Regions from separate parts of the Homo sapiens genome. Here all the other regions are linked to region 3. Evidence: promoter capture Hi-C in 16 types of primary human blood cells and fetal thymus (Javierre and others, 2016). All regions are on one chromosome and are shown on one strand. The core of a region is centred on a gene start or on the middle of the fragment in contact, and the rest is flanking DNA. Distances in the headings are between cores, read along the strand shown. Region 1 overlaps LINC01801 (long intergenic non-protein coding RNA 1801). Region 2 has its middle 13 kb from the start of LINC01531. Region 3 holds the start of HPN-AS1 (HPN antisense RNA 1).

Region 1 (3,552 bases), core at 505-3,004, 290 kb before region 3:
CACATCTGAAGCACTCAGCTTTAGAACAGGGCCTAGAGGGGCATGCAGCACCTTAGTTTATGTTGGGGAGGCTTACACATGAGCACCGGGGTTCCTGCAAGCCTACAGCACCTCTGGTACAGTTGGAGAGGGCAGTACTACTGAAAGCAAAAACTCCTGGGAAACACTTTCCTCCCTGCCTACAGTCAGAGCAGCTGGGGCCTGTCCTGCCAAAGCACACCTCTTAGAACATCACTGAGAAGAAACATGTTCCAGAAGGCACCTCTGTTCCTTCTTGTGTTCATAACACCTGGAAACCATCTGGCCAAAGCACGTCTGTTGTGGTTGGAGGAGCCCGCACATACCAGTGCTTGGGACACTTCTGTCTTGCAGACAGACCACCTGGAATGCAGCTGGCCAGAGCACATCTGCATCCCTCAAAGGGAAGGAGAAAGCAGCACATCTATGCTTGGAGGCCTTTATGTTTCCACCACAAGCAGAGCACCCTGTTGCACCTTTCCAAGCACCTATGTTGCAGTAGCAGGGGACAACACACTACCTGTGACTGCAAGTCTTCTCTTCTTGTGTCTGGTCAGAGCGCTTGGGGCCCATATGGCCTGGGCAAACCTGTTACTGCTGGAGAAGCCTGCACAACAGAGAAGAAACATGTGCCCCAAGATACTTCTGTTCATGACTTCTGTCAAACGCCTTTGGACCACTCAGCTTGAGCACATCTGTTTCTGTTGGAGGGGCTGGTGCCATATCTGTGACTGAAGAAACTACTGTTTATGAATACAATCAGAGCATGTGAGGGCCATAAGTCCAGAGTATAGGCAGTGCAATGCCTGCAATGGGAGGAGATGGCACCATACCTGTAATGGGAGGAGATGGCACCATATATGGGTTTGTTTGGGGGGGACACTTCTGTTCATGAACACAGCCAGAACACCTGGGGTCCACAAGTCCTGAATTCAGGTGTACAATGGGAGGAAACAGCACCCCACCTGTGCCTGCAGAAACTTCTGTCCATGAATAGTCAGAGAGCCTGAGGTCCACAAGTCCAGATTAAAGATGGTGCAATGGCAGGACACAGTCCCACACCTATGCTTACTCGCGAATACAGCCAGAGTGCCTGGGTTCCACAAGTGAGGATTCAGATGGCAAGTAGAGGGTACAGTACCATTCAAGTGTTTGGGTACCCTTCTCACCATCATTCAGAGCAACTGGGACACTGGTGGCTGGAGCACACTTGTTGCAGTCAGATGGGAGAACATGTTGAAGAAGATACTTCCATTCTCACCTTCAATCAGAACACCAGGGGCCTAAGCCAGGGTACCTTCCCTCTTTCATTTTGGAGAAAACAACATCACTGAGAAAATATCTGTGCTTCAGGACCTTTTCCACCTGCTTTTGATCAGGTCAAATGTGCTTCTGTGGTGGGCACGGCAAGCACAGCCTCGTCTTTGGGGCACCCTCGGCACCTGCACAGGGATTCTTTGGGGACAGAAGCATGCAGCATCACCCTATTTGTTTTCTTCTCATGTAAGACTTAGGGTCCTCAGTGACCAAAAGCAAAAGCTTCCTCTAGAAATGGCAGGTGACCACTGTTCCCCATGATTTGATCTTGTTCTGCTGGGAGCAGTTTCTGCTCCTTCTAGTTACGGCAAACAAGCTTCACCTGCCCTTTGTCCTTCTAGCACAAACTGGAAGCCCAAGACCCTGGGGTGTTTGTGAATGTGTCCAAGGACTTGGGTTCAGATGAGCCAAGTCAGAAGTCGACACACTAGCCTAAGATGTTCACCTGTGGAGAGAAGAGAGAGATGGGTGAGTATCAGCCGTGCAACACTACACTCTAGTTTCAGTGTTATCCTGGAAGACCTAAGCTTTGGGGGGGTTTCCTCCTGTCTTGGAACTGTCAGGACACCCACTGCTATCTATGTCTGCCATGTTTCCTCTGCTCATGTGTTTTTGCTCTAACTCAATGATGGAGAAAATACTGACTTGTATAAGCCATGATTGTTGAGCCAGGCTTAACTGTGCAAAGTTTCTGTGGCCCAGGGCCCAGGATCTAGAACATGGAGTTTAAATGTCTTTTTTGCTTGTTTAATTTAGTTGTATGCCAGTAATTCACACACATTCACAATTTTTTTTTTGGCTGCAGGGGGTTGTGGGGGAGAGATGGGGATCTCATCATGTTGCCCAGCCTGGTCTCAAACTTGGCTCAAGTGGTCCTCCCGCCTTGGCCTCCCAAAGAGTTGGGATAACAGGTGTGAGCCACCACGTCCAGCAACATTCACACTTTCACCTATGGATGATTGGCTTGGCAATCAGGCTTTTGGGCCTGGAGGAAAAAAGGAAGAAAGAACTCACGCATGACTGCTCCGTAATTTAAAAAAAATTTAAGTCTGTTAGGATGTAATAGATTACATAGATATTGGTATCATGTTGCTTTGACACATTACAAATGATTATCTTTTAAGGTAAATAGCAGGATAGGTTCTATTTGGAAAAATAACTGGTCTATCTCGAGTCCTAACCACAAAAATATCGTCACAAGATTTATAATTTCACACAGACTTGGCTGACCTTGGAGTTGTACTGTGCTGAAAATACAATCTTTTTAAAGTATTTTACAACCCATGAAGGTATCTTAAGATGGTGGAAAGAAAAATAAAGTACAAGCATTTCCTTCAGCTGCTTACAGATTACAGTTGTCCCTTGAACAATGCGTGGGGGTAAGGGGTGCTGCTTCCCCCACGCAGTCCAAAATGTCTGCATGACTTGTGACTTCCCCAAAACTTAACCACTAGTAGCCTACTGTTGACTGGAGGCCTCACTGATAACATGAACAGTTAACACATTCTGTATGTTATATGTATTATATACAGCATACTTACAATAAGCTAGAGAAAAGAAAATGGATGAGTGGATCATCATAAAGGTTTCATCCTTGTCATTTTCATGTTGAGTAGGCTGAGGAGGAGGAGGAGGATGAAAAGGAGGGGTTGGTCTTGCTGTCTCAGGAGAGGCCGCAGTGGAAGAAAATCCACATGTAAGTGGATCTGTGCAGTTCAGACCTGTGTTGTTCAAGAGTCAATGTATTATATTAAACAGTGCTAGGTCTTGGTGATATAGAATTCAAAGATTTATCTCTTGCAGCCCAGCAATTTACAGTATAGCAGAGAGAGACAGATAGATAAACCAAATATTACACCTGGAAAGATAGTGGTGGCGATACGGGAGTAGGTAAGAAGGACATAAAACTAGGTGTGAGAGAGATGGAAAAAATAAAAAATAATAAAAAAAAGAAGAAGGAAGAAGTGTCCAGGCAGAGAAAGGCTATTTGGGGGTCAAAGAAATAGCATGCTAAAAGTCAGGGAAGACTAATCTGTGTAACAAACCTGCACATGTATCCTGGAACTTTAAATTCAATTAAATTAAATTAAAAGTCAAGGAAGAAAGAGATCATGACCCTGTGGGACACCAGGCAAGTAATCAAATGTGGTTGGAGAGTGAAACCCAAGCTGGGAGATGTGGCTGCTGTGTTCAGCAAGTGCAGATCATGGACAAACA
Region 2 (3,431 bases), core at 276-2,775, 290 kb after region 3:
AGAGCTTAGTTCTCACTAACAAGCCCCAAGAGTGTCCAAACTGAAACAGTCATGGTGCTTTCCTCCCTCCATCATTTGGGCTTATTCAACCTGCAAATGGAAATTCCTTAGAAAATTCCCAAATTGAGAGGAGCCCTTCCTGCTGTCTGGAACCCAGAAAAGACACTCATCCATCCAGACACAGATATCAAATTTCAAAGTCTGTTCTTCCTAGGCAATCAGCAATACATTTGGGGCTGGCAGCAGCAGAGCCAAAGAGAAAAAGATGGAAACCCACCTCCAGCCAAAAAAAGGTCAGACAGCTGTACAGGGGGCTTCTGAAAGTCCCAGTCTGCAGCAGCTGAGCCACAAGCAATGTGTTCCCAGGTAGGGAACCAAAATCTGTTACTGAAATGCCAGGGCTCCAGTCTAGGTCCCGTTGCTCACTGCACAGAAAGCCAATCACCAAGACAATGAGTACTGCCTGGGAAGAAGGCTTTAATTGAGTGCTTTAGCCAAGGAAAATGGGGATCAGTCTCAAATCCATCTCCCTAGTCAACTAAAATCAGGGGGTTATACAGCAGGGAAGAAATGTAACTACATGTGGGAAAACCAGAGTTAGGGAGAGGTAAGGAAGAGGAGTTGGTCAAAGGAATTAGGGAGGGATAAGGAAATCAGGAGGGATGAGGGGTCTGGCATCTCATTGTCTGGATGCAGTGATCTGGTGAGTTTCAATTCGTTGATTTCCTGTGGCAAGAACTCAGATAAGACAAATGCAGGCTTCAAACTTTAAGACCAGGAGGGGGCCAGGCACAGTGGCTCATGCCTGTAATCCCAGCACTTTGGGAGCCCGAGGTGGGTGGATCACGAGGTCAGGAGATCAAGGCCATCCTGGCTAACACAGTGAAACCCTGTCTCTACTAAAAATACAAAAAATTAGCCGGGTTTGGTGGCATGTGCCTGTAGTCCCAGCTACTCAGGAGACTGAGGCAGGAGAATTGCTTGAACCTGGGAAGCAGAGGTTGTAGTGAGCCAAGATCGCACCACTGCACTCCAGCCTGGGCAACAGAGAAAGACTCCATCTAAAAAAAAAAAAAAAAAAAAAAAAAGAAGGGTGAATTTCTACGTTGATCCAAAAGAAGCATCTATGGGACAATCAGGCCAGTTTCATGAGGAATATAAATTGGATCCTGTCATTGCCCTGAATAAAACTTTTCAATGGCTTTCCATTCTGGCCTCCTCCTCACAGCCTTTGAGGCCCTGCCTCTCTCTCCAAGCTTCTCTGGGGCCATCCCCAGAGAAGTGTCACTGACATCGCTCTTCTGGCCTGGACTTCTCTCTGTCCCTTGAGCAGGCCAAGCTCTGAATGTCTGCATGCACCATGCCTTCCACTCTTTACCTGGCTAGTTCCCCACTTCTTCCAAGTTTCTGTCCAATGTCACGCCTTAGAGAGGCTTTCCCTGATCATCCAATATCAAGTAGCCCCCTTCTGATATTATCTCACACTGCGCTCTCATGGTTTGATGTTTGTATGTGTGTGTTCATTTGTTTAACGTGACTCCTACTAGACTGAGAAGCCCATGACAGCAGTCACCACGTCAGTTTTCTTTGTCACTATATACCCAGTGGGTGCCTAAAACCGTGCCTAGCACAGACTGGGCATTTGATGGTGAATAAATGAATGAATGATTTTTTAAAAATATCTCTAATTTTCTACTATTATAAATAATGCTATGAGAACATCCTTTTACATAAAGGCACGTGCACTGTGCATTTCCTACAAGTCGTACTGTTGAATTAAATGATATGTACATGTAAAGCTTTGATAAATATCGATGAATTACCTTCCCCGGCTGAGTCAACCCTTTCTTCCCCAACAGTCTGTAAGAGACCCCATAACTCTGCTGACAAGAGAAAATATTGTATTTTAATTTTTTGAGATGATATTTAGAATTTAGAAACTTAAGTATTAGTCTGGGATTTCCAGAGAAACAGAACCAATAGAGTGTGTGTATGTGTGTCTGTGGGTGTGTCTGTGTGTCTGTGTCTCTGTGCATGTGTCTGTGTGTGTATGTGTGTCTCTGCGGTGTGTGTGTGTCTGTGTGTGTGTCTGTGTATGTATCTGTGTGTGTGTCTCTGTGCATGTCTGTGTGTGTCTCTGTGTGTGTGTACCTCTGTGTGTCTCTGTATGTTTTTGTATGTGTGTCTCTGTCTGTGTCTCTATGTGTGTCTCTGTGTGCATGTCTGTGTGTGTGTTTCTCTCTGTGTGTGTTTTTGTGTGTGTCTGTATATGTGTCTCCATGTGTGTGTCTGTATGTCTCTGTGTGCGTCTGTGTGCATGTATGTTTGTGGCTCTGTGTGTTAATGTGTGTCTCTGTGTATGTGTTTCTGTGTGCATGTTTGTATGTGTTTCTGTGTGTCTCTGTGTGTTTTTGTGGGTCTGTGTGTCTCTCTGTGTGTGTGTATATCTCTCTGTGTCTGTGTGTGTCTCTGTGTTTCTGTGTGCATGTCTGTGTGTGTGTCCATGTGTGTGTCTGTGTGTTACTGTGTGTCTCCGTGTGTGTGTCTGTGTGTTTCTGTGTGTGTGTTTGTGTGTGTGTGTGTGTGTGTCTGCATGTCTGCATGTGTGTATAAAGAGATTTATTTAAGGAATTGGCTCATGTGATTGTGAATGCTTGATGAGCCCAAAATCTGACGGAGGAAGCTGGCTGACTCGAGGCTCAGGAAGAAGTTGTGGTTGAGTCTAAAGAGAGCCTGCTGGTGAGCCAGGAAGACCCACTGCTGCAGACAAAGTCTGAATCCAGCATGCAGGAGAATTCTCTTTTGCATGTGGAGGTCAGCCTTTTGTGCTGTTCAGGCCTTCAGTGACTGGAGGAGTCCCCCACATTTTGGAGGGCAATCTGCTTTGCTCAGAGTCCACCAATGTAAATGTCAATCTCATCCAAAAACACCCTCACAGCAACACCCAGAATAACGTTTCACCAAATATCTGGGCACTGTGGCGTGGCCAAGCCAACACATAAAATTAACCGTCATACTCTGTATTATTTTCATATTAATCTCCCAGATTAAAAATGAGATAGACAATATTTACATATTGTGTAGAGTCATTTGTGTTTCTCCCAATACTTGCTTTGTTCTTATTTGACTTACAGGAGTTCTTTGAATATTGGCTTACAAACCTCATATCAGGTGTATAAGTAGAAGGATAGTGGCCTTTTACTTTGTTGATTGTAATGTTTTTCATAGGTTATCTCTTTTTATGTGCTCAAATTTCTCATCATTTTTTGATGACTTCTACATTATGTCATACTGGGAAAAAGCCTCCTTATTTATAAGACTTTTAAAATTACACAATACCTACACAACATTTATTATTTTTAAAAACATTTTTGATCTTGAATGCACCTGCCTTTTATTCTTGTTACCTGGCTGTAATTCTTCCCAGTGGA
Region 3 (3,400 bases), core at 193-2,692:
GTGGATCCCCAGGTGCATGTGGAGAACTGCATCCATGACCTCTGTGCCACGGGGGGCTCAAGAGAGACTCTGTGTGCCATACTGGGGAGCTACGCCCAGGAAAGCCAGCAGCGCAGCGTTCCCATGCAGCCCTGGAGACACCTCTTGGCCTGCAGTAAGTGGGTATTCCCAGGGAGGGTCTTTCTCAGCCTGACCTCCCCAGCTGGCCCAATACCACTTCCAGGATGTCCTCCTAGGTCAACACCACCCAAAGTGACCCACTGCATGCCTTTCTGGCTAACTGTTCCCGCGAAGAACCTACCTGCTTAAAACTCTGCAATAACAATAACAGATGACACTGAGTGCTATTGCATCAGTCAGGATGGTCTGGGTTATGCTGAAGTAACGAACTAACCTGAACATGACCCAGCATGACCAAGGTTGTTTCTTCATCACTATCTTCGTCACCTTTGTCATCATCACAGTCACTATCATCATTACCGTCACCATCACCACCACCACCAGCGTCACCATCACCACCACCACCAGCCTCACCACCACCACCACCACCAGCATTACCATCATCACCACCACCACCATCACCACAAGCATTACCATCATCACTACCACCACCATCATTGTTACCACAACCACAACCATCACCACCATCACCATCATCATTGTTACCACAGCCACAGCCATCATCACCACTACCATCACCACCATCATCACCATCACCACCATCACCATCATCATCACCACCACCACCACCATCAACATCATCATCACCATCATAACCATCACCACCAGCATCACCATCACCACCAGCATCAGCATCACCATCACTACTATAATCACCATCACCATTATCACTACCACCACCATCATTGTTACCACAACCACAACTATTGTCATCACCACCACCACCACCCTCACCACTATCATCACTGTCACCATCACCGCTATCATTACCATCACCATCAACACCATCACATCACCAACAACATCACCAGCCCTACCACCATCATCATCATTACTATCACCACGACCACCACCACCACCATTATCACCACCATGATCACGCCACCAGCATTATCACCACCGTGACCACGCCGCCACCGTTAATCACCGCCGTGACCACGCCGCCACCGTTATCACCGCCGTGACCACGCCGCCACCGTTATCACCGCCGTGACCACGCCGCCACCGTTATCACCGCCGTGACCACGCCGCCACCATTATGCTACATCCTGATGATGCCTCCACCTCCCCTCCTTTGCCTTTATGACTTACCCTTGGCCCCCACAACCCTCTCTCCGCTCCCTTGGTCCTATTCTGGTTGGAAATGCTCCAGAATAGTAATGCTTGCTCAATTATTTAACTCCTACCTGTTTTCTTCCAGAGCTGGCCTGTCCTCCCCGCAGCAATTACGAGCTCTGCGGCTCCTCCTGTCCTAGCTCTTGTGCCGAGCCTGCCCTGCCCGACAGCTGCCTGACACCATGCCAGGATGGCTGCCAGTGTGACCCAGGCTTTGTGCTCAGTGGCATGGACTGCGTGCCCCCAATCCAGTGCAGCTGCTCCATGGGGGGCAGGTACCACCACCCGGCTGGGGAGGCCTTCTGGACTGGGGAGCGCTGTGAGCAATTCTGCCACTGCCAGGCCTCCACCCACGCCGTGTGCTGCTCCCCGTCCTCCTGTGGGCCGGGGCAGAGATGTGAGACCCTCAGGGGCATCTTTGGGTGCCACCCACTCTCCCCTGGCATTTATCAAGCAACCATGCACTCACACGTCGCCTCCTTTGACCGGAAGAGTGTTGAGTTTCCAGGCACTTGCGCTTCTGCTTTTACCAAGTCCTGTGGCTCCTCCAGCTCATTGCGCCTTTTCAAGGTGGAAATTGGGAAGGAGAAACAAGTCCAGCAGTCCCATTGTGTTCATTTCAAAGATGTAGGTTCATGGGACCCAGGTTTGTCTGCAGAGAGAGCCCCGACCTGATGAGGTAAGCACTCATTGGCATCTAGAGACTCTTGAACCGATTGAAGCTAAAAGAAATACATTGGCTCAAACTAAGTAAAAATCATGTGATAGCCTAGTGAAAGTGTAGAGATTCTGGGTCCACAGAAGTTCCCTATATACCACTTTGGCTGTTTTGGTTACAGAAAGCCTCATAAAAGGTAACTCAAACCAGTCACAGACTGTGTTTTATGATTTTTAGACTAATTACATAACTGAAAATTCCAGAGGGAGATCAGGCATGGTTTGATCAGGGTGCTAACTCAGTTTTTCAGCATTTCTCTTGGTCTGTGTTTCTCTATAGCATTAGCTTTGTCCTCAGGCTGGCTTTTCTTGTGATGGCAAAATAACTGCCAATTTTCCAGTCATTAAATGTGTATTCCCCATTGTCCAAAACCCGAATCTTTTCTTACCCCAAGTACTCAACAAAAATTCCAATGCTTCACTTTGATTAAACCCCACTGAGCCAATCAGTGCAGCCCAGAGGTTTTCTTAAGCCTATCTAATCCTACTCAGGAGTTGTAGGTGGGAGAGATCCTGCCCCTACCCCCCATCTCTGGCAGCTACTTCTTGCAGGGAGAGAGGGCAAAATGGGAATCCACCCCTGTGTCCCTATGTCCCCCGAAACCAGTATTTCTTCTTAACAATCTTCAAAGAGTGTAAATGCCCTGGTAAACCTCCACTCTGAGACCTGAAACTTTTGTCTAGAACCCACAGGGGTGGATGTGTTTTCTAGGCCCGAGGGCCCCTGCCTACAAGAGTTCCATTGTTGGCTATTGGAAAACACACAGCCACACCCCTCCCACTCCACCCCCTTCCAGGAAGGGAACCAGCTTTCAGAATTAGTCATGCTGTCAGCGTCCCACACAACGAGCCCATTGACTCCAAAGGGCAGCACAGCAGATGGACTGCTATTATCCCAGTGGTACAGATGGGGAAACTGAGGCCCGGGAAGGCAGACTTGCTTGCCTAATGTCGCATAAGGAGAAAGTGGCTGTGCTAGGATTGGAACCCAGGCTGTCAGGTTCTGAGCCCTTCCCTTTCTGTCTGTGGGCCTACTGTGTGCTCCCAAAAAGCTGTGGCCAAATTAAGGAGGTGGCATGTCTGATTCATCTGTGGCGGGGCCTGGGATATATAGTAACTCTCAACAATGGTGTTCATTAGTCCGGGCATGGAGGCTCACGCCTGTAATTCCAGCACTTTGGGAGGCCGAGGCGAGTGGATCACCTGAGGTCAGGAGTTCGAGACCAGCCTGGCCAACATGGAGAAACCCCATCTCTACTAAAAATACAAAAAAATTGCACTTTAGGAGGCTGAGGCGGGCAGATCACCTGAGGTAGGGAGTTCGAGACCAGCCTGGCCAACATGGAGAAACCCCGTCTCTACTAAAAATACAAAATTAGCCAGGCGT

What was found. The method cuts DNA at HindIII sites, captures the fragments that hold promoters and counts their contacts. A CHiCAGO score of 5 or more calls a contact.
Region 1: a contact is called between a fragment that was not itself captured here and the fragment with the promoter of HPN-AS1 in region 3, in 1 of 17 cell types (non-activated CD4 T cells). The highest score is 5.2, in non-activated CD4 T cells.
Region 2: a fragment that was not itself captured here is called in contact with the fragment with the promoter of HPN-AS1 in region 3 in 4 of 17 cell types (total B cells, naive CD4 T cells, naive CD8 T cells and 1 more); the score reaches 6.6 in total B cells.

What each region holds. Positions count from the first base shown.
Region 1 is chr19:34,815,711-34,819,262 of GRCh38, forward strand. LINC01801 (long intergenic non-protein coding RNA 1801) reads right to left here. Exons shown (of 6, transcript NR_033982.1): 5 at 2,877-3,056; 6 at 444-1,780. Among named protein-coding and RNA genes, the nearest start is that of LINC01801, 15 kb to the right of the region's middle. The HindIII fragment of the contact is 211 bases long and covers 1,650-1,860 here.
Region 2 is chr19:35,390,829-35,394,259 of GRCh38, forward strand. No RefSeq gene overlaps it. Among named protein-coding and RNA genes, the nearest start is that of LINC01531, 13 kb to the right of the region's middle. The HindIII fragment of the contact is 543 bases long and covers 1,255-1,797 here.
Region 3 is chr19:35,104,862-35,108,261 of GRCh38, forward strand. HPN-AS1 (HPN antisense RNA 1) reads right to left here and starts at 1,443. Exons shown (of 4, transcript NR_024562.1): 1 at 1,368-1,443. LOC124904701 (hepatitis A virus cellular receptor 1-like) reads left to right here. Exons shown (of 3, transcript XR_007067238.1): 2 at 1-1,975. The HindIII fragment of the contact is 15,680 bases long and covers 1-3,400 here.